3 separate regions of the Homo sapiens genome follow, and regions 1 and 3 are each linked to region 2. The links are contacts of gene promoters, found by promoter capture Hi-C in blood cells and fetal thymus (Javierre and others, 2016). All regions are on one chromosome and are shown on one strand. Each heading gives the region's core, a stretch centred on a gene start or on the middle of the fragment in contact. The rest is flanking DNA. Distances are from core to core; before and after follow the strand shown.

Region 1 (4,264 bases), core at 1,327-3,826, 810 kb before region 2:
AGACTTAATTACCAAACTTTAATACCATGTTATATAGGTCAAGTGAGTATGTATACCTTTCTCCAGAAACAAAGGAATTCCGAATAATAGGATTTCAGATTTAATTGTAGAATTAGCAAAATGTTTTGAGAATGTCATTTACCGCAACACAAATCAATATTAAATGCTTTATGCAGGAAGCACACTTTCAGAAAATGGGCCGTAAAGCTTTCTGGGATCCGACCCTAATTACTAGAGCAGGCTCTTGCCGTTTGTCTCTCTCTTCAATTATTTACAGGGCAAAAAAGCCAAATGGCATTGCATTAGCTACATTAAATGGTATGGACTTGGTTTCTAACTTACTAATGGTATATAAAAATTACTAAGGTAAATGTGCCTGTAGAAACATGGCTTTTTTTCTTCCTCACCTGAGTGGGTGTATTTATTATTCATATTGTTAAGTGTTGAATAAGCTGTCCTTTAGGCACCCAATGCTGCATAATTTAAACAAGTGCATTAAATATATAAGATATCTAAAAGGTAGTGCATTGATTATGCCACAAAATTTCTTTGAACAGCTACCATGTAGCTCACAGAAAACTAGCATCTCCTGCAAGTTCCTAAAACAAATACTGTGAGAACTACACAGAGATGAATAAGGGGTATCCTTGCTGCTACCATCTTGCTGCTTTCTGGTGACCCAAAGTAAAGTGGGAATTGGGGGAAGTGAAAATGAGGCCCGGGATTGCTAGGACATTTCTGGTCTCGAAACTGACAAGTGTCCTTTTTACGTAGACAAATACAGGGCTATGTCGTAAGTACATGAAAACGTGGACCACACACATTCTAAGAAAGAAAAGGCTGAATCAGAGATTCTTTGTACCAGGCCGGAAATGCCCAACTACCAGCAAGCAGAGCATGATTACAACCTCCCAAAGAAAGTTCGGACACTGCATCCATACCTGATTCTTTTGTGATCTAGAAGGGCACCCAGAGTTGTGATAGATGTTAATGGCTGAAGAAGGCTGCTGCGTCCAACTTCCACCCTCCCAAATTCTGGCGGCTGCTTCCAAAGCAGTGAAATTTCCAGTCTTCATGGCCCAAATAATTTTTTTAAATGAGTTCGGGAGGCATCAAATTCTTATTGTAAAAATAAGATAGGCCCACTAACAAAGTACCCAGGGTCCCTAGAAAGCCAGGCGCAATTTGTATGGCTACATGTCATCAACTGTTGTTACCCAAGAGTGTGCCGAGGTCACTTTTTAAAAAGCAACATTGGAAATCGATCTGTGGCAAACATATAAGCTAGTTTTGTTTTTGTTTCTTTTTTAACCAAATACGAAGTCACTTCTTTCTCTGCACTGAAATCTGCCCATTGTCCCTCCTTTGCAAAACCTCTAGAGATTAGAAGGGACATCAATGAACGCGAGTGAACTTTGGCCACTTTTCTACCCAAAACACCAGCGTAAAAGTAGAAATCAGTAACCAGGTGAAGTGCCACACCGCACAAAGATCAGAGGCGAGGGGCGGGCGCTCAGGGCCGGAGGCGGGGAGGAAAATATCCCGGCCCCGCCGCCCCTCCAGCCCCAGTCATCGCGTGCGCGGGAGGTGGAGGGGCGTCCCTGGGGGGCGGGAGGCTCCGCGCCACGGCGAGGGGAGCGAAGAGTTACAGCTTACAGGGCGAGGCCCTTGGAGAAGGGGTCGAAAAGCCGGGCCACCAGCGGATCCAGACGCGCACACCAGGCGACGGCCGCCGGCCAGCCAGGGCTCGGCGAGGGGCGCCGCTCGACCCCACGACCCTCCCCGCTGGCCGGGCCAGGAAGGGGCTGGTGGCTCTTTCCTGTCTAGTCTCTCCCCCCGCGGCTTTCTGTAACCCGATCCCCGCACTCCGCTCCCAGGGAAGCCGCCGCCCCGCGCGCCGCCCGGCTCTGCCCAGGCCAGCGCTATAGTTAGCAACCTTCCAGCAACTCCGCCCGGCGGTGGCGGGGGTTCGCCGCGCGCCCCCCTCCCCAGGCCTGACCCTGCGCGCGTCCCCGGGCCCCCTCCTCCGGCCGTCACCTCTCCCCGGCGCCCCTTTACCTTGGCTTGCAGATACTGGGGGTAATAGTAGGTGGCGTACTGAGGGTACATCTGCTGTTTCCACACTTTGCCCATGAAGCTGGAAGGGAGCCTGCCGTGCAGGGTCGCGGACACTTTGGGGTTTCCAAGTCTCGGGCTCTCCTGCCTCTCCCTTTCCGGCGGCGGCGGCAGCGGCGGCGGCGGCGGCGGCTGCTGCTGCTGCCGCTGCTCCACCTCCCAGCCGGGACCAGACGTCCTCCTCCTCCTCCTCCTCTTCCTCCTCCTCCTCCTCCTCCTCCTCCTCTTCCTCCTCCTCCTCCTCCTCCCAGGCAGAAAGAAAGACACTGCAGAGCGCAGAGGGCACCCCGGACAGGGCGCTCCCAAGGAGTTTCCTCCCGGAGCCCGACTGCTCCGGGGCTGCCAAGGGCTGGCGCGCTGGCCGCGGTCCGCTCGGGCGAGCCGGCTGCGCGGGGCTGAGAGGTGATCAATACAAGTGGAAAGTGCGGCAGCGGCGGCTGCGCTTGGTGCCAGGCGGCATCTGGGGTGGGTGCGCCCGATGTGGAGAGAGGAGAGGGGCTGGCGTTCCGAGGCCGTGGGGGAAGGGCGGGCGGGGGCGGGGCCTGGGCGCCGCCGAGCCCGGGACCCGCTGGAGGTGAGGGCTGAGTTTTAACCACTCCTCACCTCCCAGGCTCGCGGTTGGACGGGCGGAAGCCCTGTGAGTCCAGATCGCTTTGTGTCGGGGGTGGGGAAATGGGAGTGGGAGTGGGGGTGGAGGGGGAATGCGGGGGGACCCAGCTTAAGAACTGCAGGGCGGGCACCTCTTTTGCTTTCCCGAGTTTTTATCTTCGTAAGGGGGAGGGGAAATAAGGGAAAAGAGGAAATCTGATTAATCGTTCACTTCCCACCGCCCAGTAATTTTTTTTCACAAGGGAAGGAAAATGATTTAATGCCCAACAAAGCTGGAGTCTGGACACCTGGGTTCTGTTCCTCCCACCCACCCCCGACCCGGGGCCACAAGACTAATCTAGGTGACCTTGGGAGGGTTAGCGTCCTTCGGTTTGGTTTTCCCAGATGTGAGACGTGAAATCATGCCCCTTGCACAAGGGGAGGCAAAGCACATACATACATACACACACACACACACACACACACACACCCCTCACAACATATAGACGGATCCTTCTAAGAGGGGGATGCCGCAAAGAGGCAGAATGTTATTAGAGGACACAATATAGACATCAGCTTTTCTCTGCCTCTTTCTAATGCTGCCAGACAGTCTGTCAACTCCCACTCAGGAGCAAGGAAACTCCCTGAGTTTGGAATATTTTAAGGCCATTTTGAAAGTCACGCTGGCATATTGTTGCAGTGTGCTTCAGTGACATATAAAATCAATCTCTCTTTCTGCCTCTCTCCATCTCCTAATTGTCACAGCTCTAGACAGCCTCAGACCAGCAGTGGTTCAGTTCACTACATAACTAGATATAATTTAATGGAATTAATTGGTCCCCGAAGCTGCCTGCAGAAGACTTTTATATTCCAGCTCAAAAAGAGAGCTAATACCAAAATGTACATACGGATAGCATAGGTAAGCAAGCATCCTCAAATTAGGGTTCCGGCACATCTAATAAAATGTAATAAAAAACTGTGTTTGTTATTAAATAGACCTTGTTTACTTTGTCATTTTGGTTTTTGAAGAGTCTTTTGTTAATAGCACAAGGTAAATTAAACTCAACTGGAATGCATTATTTTGTTAAACAGTTATTATTTTTATATGATAACATTTTAAAATAGGTTTAGTAAGATACTTTAAAACAATGACAAAATAAGGACCTGAAACCCTTATAATCGTTCTATGGTTTAGACAAATTTCTAGATCTTACATGTTTGACAAAAACAAAATAAATATAAGTATAGGTGAGAACATTTTGGCTCTGCCAGGAGGCAAATCATGTCCCTCTCATTTACCTATGTAAAAGCCTATAAGGAAGCTAATATTTACTATGTCTGCTATATTGTAGGCACTGTTGAGGTGCATGCAGACCTGAAAAGTGGAATGGGTCACTGTCAGACTAGGGGAGCCTAAAATATTTCCCATATTGTTTCAATGTGGGGCCTTTTAATGTTTTTAAACAGGGAACTGACATGAACTAAATTGTGCTTTAGGAAGACTAGGAATGATGGTTTGGAAGAGTGACAGAAGGAAGAGAAGTAAATCGAGAACAATCGC
Region 2 (4,064 bases), core at 1,265-3,764:
CTGATTTAAAGCCTTTTTATCTAGTAAGTCCAGCATGTAGGCTTCCTCGGGTGAGTTTCTATTGATTAATTTTTATCCTGTGTATGAGCCATACATTCTTGTTTCTTTGCATGTATCTTAACTATTTTGAAAACTGAACATTTTAAATAATATAATGTGCAACACTGGAAATCAGATTCTACCCGCTCCCCAAGCTTCACTGTTATTTCTGTTTGTTGTAGCAGTTGTTGATTTAGTGACTTTTCTGAACTCATTCTTTTTTTTTTTTTTTAGAGATAGGGTCTGAGTTGGTGACTCAAGGGATCCTCTGGCCTTAGTTTACCGAGTAGCTGGGACTACACGTGTGCCACCGCACCTAGCTTATGAATGAATTCTTTAAAGTCTGCATTGTTTATTGTGTGTGACCACTCAGGTTTCTGCTCAGTTAGCTTAGTGGTCAACTAATGATTAGAGAGACAGGTTTTCTTAAACACCTTCAACCAAAAAATCTCCCAGTCTTTCCTGAGGGGTTTAGTACTTACGTTGGGACAAGCCTTCAACAATCAGCCAAGCACTTTACATTAGGTTGGTACCAAAGTAATTTCGTTGAAATGACAAAACCGCAATTTTTTGCACCAACCAACCAAATAATTCTGCCTTAGCCTTCACTTCTTGCTTCTGTAGTGCCTCAAGGTCACCCAGAGGTTAGAGCTCAGGGCCTTCTCAGGCCTATCTTGAGTGTTCACATAACCCTAGACATATGCACACCCTAAGCACCTTCTACAGTCTCAGGAATATGTTAGCGTTTTTCAAAGCCCTATGGACATCTTATTCCCCAGCTAAATACTTTAGTATGGCTGGAGCAAAAGGTGCTCCAAACAAAGTTTAAGGGTTTTTTTTTTTTTTGACCTTTATAATGAATGTTATGGGGAGCCACTAGTGGAATTTTAAATAAAGAAGGAGCATGACTACATATAGCACAAAAATTTTTACCAGTGAGGTGGAGAATGGATTAAAAGGAATCAGACCGAAGGCGGAAAGATCAAAGAGCATTCTAAAAAAGTAGCCTGGGGAACATGGTGAAATCCTGTCTCTACTAAAAAAATAAAATAAATAAAAACATAAATAAAAATTAACTGGGCATGGTGGCAAGCGCCTGTAGCCCTAGCTACCTAGGAGGCTGAAGTGGGAGGGTTGCCTGAGCCCGGGGACGGGATGTTGCAGTGAGCCCAGATGGCGCCACTGCACTCCAGCCTGCGTGACAAAGCAAGACCCTAACTCAAAAATGCATTAATAAATAAATACATATAAAATAAAATAAAATAAAAAAGAAGTGAGGAAGGTCTGAGTTAAGGCCAAAGTGGGGAGTATTTAGAAGGGGAAGTGGTGGATTGGAAAAGCTGTTATGGAGATTACACATTTCATGGTTTCTACAGTGGGGAGAGATGAAAAAGAGGCAAGTGTTCATACTCTTAAGTTTCTGATTAGGAAAATTATTTGGAGGACGGGGCTACTCACCCCCTCCTCCCATAAAAAATGAATAGAGAGGCATAGGTTTGGGGGGGAAGCATAAAGATGTGGATCCAAATATTACCTATGAGTAAAATAATCTTTGTGTTTTTAAAGGTATTAATATCTTAAAGCAATTGTGCTACTCAAATCACAGTTTGGATCCAGGCGCTGTAATCTTTCCTCACCCTCTGTCCAGTAGATTCATCACCATTCTCGATTTAGGAATGCTTTAAAGATGCTTGTTATTTGGAACATATTTGAGAAAGTGACAGGAACGTGGCAAACAAGCTGCCTTAAACAGAGACTGTACCTAGACCTAGAGTGTAATATCAACTTGTCAAGTATATCTTCTGCAACTTTGCTTTTTGAAAGCCTAGCACAAAGTAGATCATGAGTAAAATGTGATTGCCGATAATTACATGGAGAAATGTGAATAAATGACTCTTTAAACCCTGTAAACTAAACTCGGCTTAAAATAGGTGGTTTGAACATTTGGGAAACCTTAGTTTTCCCTGAAATCCAATCCTTGCAAAGCAATAATGACAAGAGGTGGATAAAGCGGACTTACAGAAAAGGGCGTCTTACCGGTCCCCTCTAATCACACCATCCCCCCTCTTTTAAAAAAATTTTCTTCTCAGATAACCAAGTTAAATCTAGCTCAAATGAACCTTTTAGTTTTTGAGGAGGGCAATAATAGTAGTGAACACCAAAACGAAAGGGGATCTGGGCTTCAAAATACTAACAGTTCTATTTCCTAGCCAGTCGTCTCCCGGGCTGGATGTGCCGCCGTCCCAGATCTCAGCGGCGGCCGCAGAGCGCAGAGGTAGGGAGAGAAAAAGGAGGCGTCGGCGGGGCGCGAGCGACCAGGGCGCTAAGTGCCGCCTCACAGTCCTGCCAGAGACAGGAGACGCCGGGCCGCCCGCGCCGTCTGTCCCAAGAGCTCCTCCTGGACATCCGCTTGACTCTCCGTCGTCTCCAATTGGCCGTCGGGGAACGGAAGCCGAAGCAAACTAGTGAACCCGGAAGTGCTTCGCGGCGGAGGCCCGGGCAACTCTTTTGAATGGAATCGGGCTGATTCATCGCCGGTTTGCAGACAGAGCCGCGTCGGGTGTGCGCCGCTGCTGCTGTTGCCTCTGTCTTCGCGTCACCACAGAGGCAAGACAAGGGTCCATATCGCGGCATCCGGCTCCCGCCCGTCTTCAGGTAAGACCCAGAAGGCAGGCCTGGGAGGTCTGGGGAGGCAGCCGTGCTAGGCCGCCGCCAGCCCCGTGCTTTCCTGAGTCACGTTGCCCAGCTGAGTTGCCACAGGAGGCCTGGGCCGCGAGGGAGGAGCCCGGCCTCCTTCATTCTCTTCGCCTGCTCTCAGGGCTCTCTGGCAGGGTCAGGTCTGGATGTCGCCTCCTTTCTCCATTCTTTTCTGTTTGGCCGAATTCACATCATGGGAACCTCTTCCATCTATATAGAGAGAATCCTTGTTTATGGCCTGTTTGTCTGTGCTCTATCCATAGTTGTTAACCGGTCTGCTTTGAAGTTTTTCAAAGCAGACCGGGAAAACAAGGGAGAGAGAGTAGAATTAACTTTCCCATTGAATACGTTTGTTTTATCTCTTGTCCTTCCTGTAAGCCTTAACCCTTTTTCTGTTAGTGTTAGGTTTTCAGCTCCCTCCAAAAAGTAAACAAAAGTCCTGCAGATACACTGCTTTTGGACCTTGAATATCTTAAAAACAAAGTGTGCTACTATGGCTGTTAACTTACTTTCAATATCATACTAATTGAGTAATTGTTGGTAAATTGATTACATTTCTCGTTTTAAGTAAAGTAGAAATCTGCTACCGTATGTTACATCTTGCAACTTAATTTTCCTGGGGATGTAGCTCTGTGTCTGTCAAAAGAAAAAGAATGTAAACTTTTGAGTCTATAAACCTAGTGACTGAAGGAAAAATTCTCGAGAAAATAAATGGTAATATAAGTTGATAAAATATTATGGAAAGGCAGGGGAAAGGGTTTAAAAATGAGCATAAAATAGAGTTATAGTGTGAAAGTGATTTTGTTCCACTGGTCACAAGTGTTTTTTTAGTGCTTCTGACTTAATGTGTTTGAGAAAAGCAGCAAGACATGCACTGATACTGTAGAAATAACAAAAACATGAACACAGTTTTAGTGGAGATGATTAATATAATGGTGGCCTTCCTGTCACGTAAGGCTACCTACCAGCTGACTCATTTGAAGTTTAGAGGTTAAGATATATAGTGGTTCTGAATTAACTACAGTTAAGGTGTGTTTAGTGAAGTGCTATTTAGTGAAAAAGGCTAAATGTTGTCTTGAATTTGTCCCTAAATCTTGCCAAGGGAAGAAAGTTTTCAAGTGATGATCTTTTATTGATGCTTCACCTGTTGACTTTGGGAGTTTTTGGTTTTTTGTTTTTTTTTCAGCCTAAAGTGCTTGGTAAATAATACATTGCCATTTTAATTTAGGCCGGGTGCGGTGGCTCACACCTGTAATCCCAGCACTTTGGGAGGCTGAGGTGGGCAGATCATGAGATGATCCAGCCTGGCCAAGACTAGCCTGGCTAAC
Region 3 (3,717 bases), core at 1,036-3,535, 880 kb after region 2:
AACAAAATGTCAGTAACAAATGAAAAGGATGTTTTTCTAATCTTGGAGTCTGGATTGAACTTTATAACTTTTCTCTCATAAAGTTGGCCCAAGGCCAAGGTAAACTTGGAATCATAGCGATCAATTATTATCCTATTTTAGAAATATTCTTATTCATGCCATCTATAAAAGCATGATAGAAAATTTCATCTCATGTAATTCTTCCCCACCACTAACCCTCAAGTTATATCAAATTTTAAAGTTGTGGGAATATCAAAAGTGCCAAATATACTCCAAATGAGCAAAGTTGCCCTTATAACCACCAAAGTTTTAAGGGTCTCACATATGTACCATTTGAAGAGACACCTAAAGAAAGCGGGTTCCAGTCTCCCTTATGTCTGTAGCTTCACAAACATCTCTTCTGACGCATTTTCTTTCACATAGATAGAAGTTATAAGACGATATGACTTCTTTTTTTCCCCTACTTTGCTTTGTTTAAATCTATTTGTTGGCCTTGAGTAGTATTTACTGTTGTTTCCAAATATGTACGTACGATTTTCTTTTGGTATGTCAAAAGCTTAGCCAGATTGCATTTTGTAAAAGATTCAGGGGAGAAATTTTATTCTCTGAGAGGCAATTTAAGGGCTACAGTAGAAGTATTATAATCTCAATTCCCCAGGTCAGGCATTTAGTGTCTGATTCCTAAAACACTTCCTTAGGAGGTATATTGAATCATCCCTAGGATTATTATTCTGAGTCTATCCTATTTAGCTTTTGTTTTCTCAAAGCATTGGATTATAAGGCTTCCTTTTCACAGTTGCATAAGAACAATTTCAAGCAAAAACCAAGGCCAGCTCTGGCTGTCATCTCCACTGTTGTTTATAGACTTTGCATGGGGCCACGCAGCTGCCCATATTCTCTGGGGTGTTTACTAAAAGTTTGATCTAACAACAATTTTGTCCCTTCAGAGTGTAGGTGGCTTATTTACTTTTACCAGATTGCAAGCACACTGAAAACAGAAATTGCAAATTGCACAATTTTATACAGAGTGTACTGCAATGGCATGTATTAATATTAATATTTGCTATGTTGTTGAATGGCTGAGTATATGGGTGAACATATGTTTTCCCTATAGCAGGAAGACTTTCTTCAGATTCCATCCTAAAAATGGCTCAGAGAAAGTAGAGGTATCCAATTACCACCTCTAGTCCATCTTCAATTCTAAATGCCAAAGACAAATTGGTATTACTGCGAAAATCAGTAGAAGGTAGAATTTATGGCTTTGTGTCCTGTATGTTGAATATCATGGCTCAGGTTTAAATTTTCATTTCATCCAAGGAAAATATTAAGAAGCTATTTCTTCTTAGGTTCAAATGGTGCATCTGTGGTGGTAAATAAACCCATAAAAGTATAATGACATATTTTGTTGTTACTGGTGGGTTGCGATGATGACGATGATGAAGACAATGATTTTTTAACCAATGCCAAAATAAACAACTTTTTAGCTCTTTCAGCTTTGGAAAAGATCTAAATAAATTATAAATGAGGCATAATTTTCATCTCTGTTTTCATGTAGTCCCAGGATTACATGTCCTTGATGTTTATTGCATGGTTTAAATGCAAATAGATGTGAGCCATGGTGCTAAAAAAAGTCCCCCATGGAATTAAGCTATAATTCTGAGGATGGCGTTAATATTCTCATTAAGGCACACTACAGTCTTTATAGGAGAAACTGATGTCTCAGTGGGGTTTTTCTTTGAACTATCTCCTCCAAACAAGTGAATAGTTGAAAGGCCAAAAGTCTGAGTCCATAAGAAAGAGGGAGCTTCCAGAAATTGAGTGATAGCTACAGATTTTAGTGTTAGTAACCTACTTACTAATTTGTCGTATTGTACTCAGATAGACTTTTTTTTTAATTGAACATTTTGTTTGTTCCCAGAATGAAAGAAGCACTTGAAAATGTATGGGTTATGGACACCTTTCTATTTTTAAAAATAATTACTTGTGAGTCTAAACTCTTCTGCTTTGATTAGAGACAAAAATATAGAAAAGTGTTGTCTAGGCCTGGCTCCAGGCTGTTAAATACAATCTTTATTCTGCATGTTGCAGTGAAATCATTAAGTATTAATAACATTAAGGGGATAAAAAATGTACTAAAGAAATTTCTAAATTTCTCTTTGCCTGTGAAACAGTGTTTGACCTTTAGCTCCTCACATGCACATATATTCACGACTGAGAGTGCAATTAGCCTGCTACCTTTTAAATTTACGAACTATTATTCTTAGCTTCACCTATTCATAACATAATAATGAAACCCAACAACTATAGAGACATGGCAAGAATTATTTGCACAGTGTTTCTAAAAAAGCCACAATTTTGGTGCCTATATAGTCCTGTTTCAGGAAAAGATGATTGAACCATAAATCATGGTTGAAAATATATATAGTTGAGAAGAAGAAATCAGATTATGAATCTGTGTTTTCCCTAAATGTTTTCATAATATAATTTCTGTTGTGTAAAATGACTATGTTTTTGTCAAACGAAAATAGGCAAACACTTTCATGCTACCATGGCCGACTGATAGCTAGTTTAACCACAAATGAAGGCCTAACATCTAAAAGTATGTAGTGCTGATAAAATCTTGAGCCATTTCTAAACTTAAGAGGCAGAATCCACAATGCTTGAGCAAATTCAGATATTTGTTTTCCTGAAGATCATCATTAGAGTTCAAAGTTTTTCTATCAATTGTAAGAAATGGAACTAAATTAAAAGATATTGGAATGAATGACAACACATCAAAAGAGGGTATTTGTCATTTAGCACTTGAAATCATTTTTCTACACATTCGTTAGCTCTCTTCCATAAATACTTTTTTTTCATATTTGGCAGAAATACCTCTTTAAGATTAGTGATAGTTTTAGACCAAGTTAGAAAAAGAAAAACAAAAGAATTAAGTCATGAAGAATGGAGAAACACAATAGTGATTGCATGACTTTTGTTGCATGTTGACATCTGCTTGAATGAGAAGGTGCTCACCTGACAGCTGTAATCTGGTCTTCAACTTCATAAACACCCAGCTTTCGATACACTGCATAGAGGAGTTTGTCACCTTGGAAAGCTGTTCCTCGACCATCCACCAAGGCAATGACCATCCCTTCCTTACTTGCAAGATAAGATATCCAATTAACAGCAAATACAGACCTTACACTCTGACTGCAGGGACCACCATACCTAAAGGAAAAACAAAAAAAACAAGAATCTTTGATTGCTTTGTAAAACTCAATTTCCCATCCTGGCCAAGCATTGCTTCTAGTAATTCCAGTACAATTATGTGATAAAATAACAATGGCGTTAGAACTGGCTCAAAATCAAGAGGAGTCCAGGCTTTTCCCAGAGGTTTGCTACAAGGAAGTTGTTTTGGGACACAGCCTCTCCTATTCCCCAAAACGGATACATCTAGGGTTGGCATTTCAAGGAATATGTGTGGGTTTTTCGTCATTTCTGCCACCTGCCACTTGCTAAAAGCAGACATAAGATATACTAAAAAAAATGCATGGTGTTTTAAGCAAATTGTGTGTAGGTCAGCACTGATTTTGGGTGTGATTCCACTAAATGTATTCTATTCCTTTATTTCATTTCTAACTCAATTACATAAGATGTGAAGATGATTTACAATATTTTTTTTGGCTGCAATTTCTCTATCTCAAAGGTATTCTGACACATTCGGCAAATTGCCAT

Evidence for each region. Contacts are between HindIII fragments. The CHiCAGO score rates a contact against its expected background, and 5 or more counts as called.
Region 1: a contact is called between the fragment with the promoter of RBMS1 here and the fragment with the promoter of PSMD14 in region 2, in 2 of 17 cell types (total B cells and neutrophils). The highest score is 5.8, in total B cells.
Region 3: a fragment that was not itself captured here is called in contact with the fragment with the promoter of PSMD14 in region 2 in 6 of 17 cell types (total CD4 T cells, M2 macrophages, naive CD8 T cells and 3 more); the score reaches 10.9 in total CD4 T cells.

What each region holds. Positions count from the first base shown.
Region 1 is chr2:160,491,231-160,495,494 of GRCh38, forward strand. RBMS1 (RNA binding motif single stranded interacting protein 1) reads right to left here and starts at 2,577. Exons shown (of 14, transcript NM_016836.4): 1 at 2,059-2,577. The coding sequence starts at 2,133. RefSeq lists an enhancer at 2,118-2,638 and a silencer at 2,825-3,004. The HindIII fragment of the contact is 13,330 bases long and covers 206-4,264 here.
Region 2 is chr2:161,305,911-161,309,974 of GRCh38, forward strand. It overlaps PSMD14 (proteasome 26S subunit, non-ATPase 14), which reads left to right and starts at 2,515. Exons shown (of 12, transcript NM_005805.6): 1 at 2,515-2,694. RefSeq lists an enhancer at 2,383-2,842. The HindIII fragment of the contact is 7,205 bases long and covers 193-4,064 here.
Region 3 is chr2:162,185,154-162,188,870 of GRCh38, forward strand. It overlaps FAP (fibroblast activation protein alpha), which reads right to left. Exons shown (of 26, transcript NM_004460.5): 20 at 3,016-3,210. Among named protein-coding and RNA genes, the nearest start is that of GCG, 35 kb to the left of the region's middle. The HindIII fragment of the contact is 3,463 bases long and covers 555-3,717 here.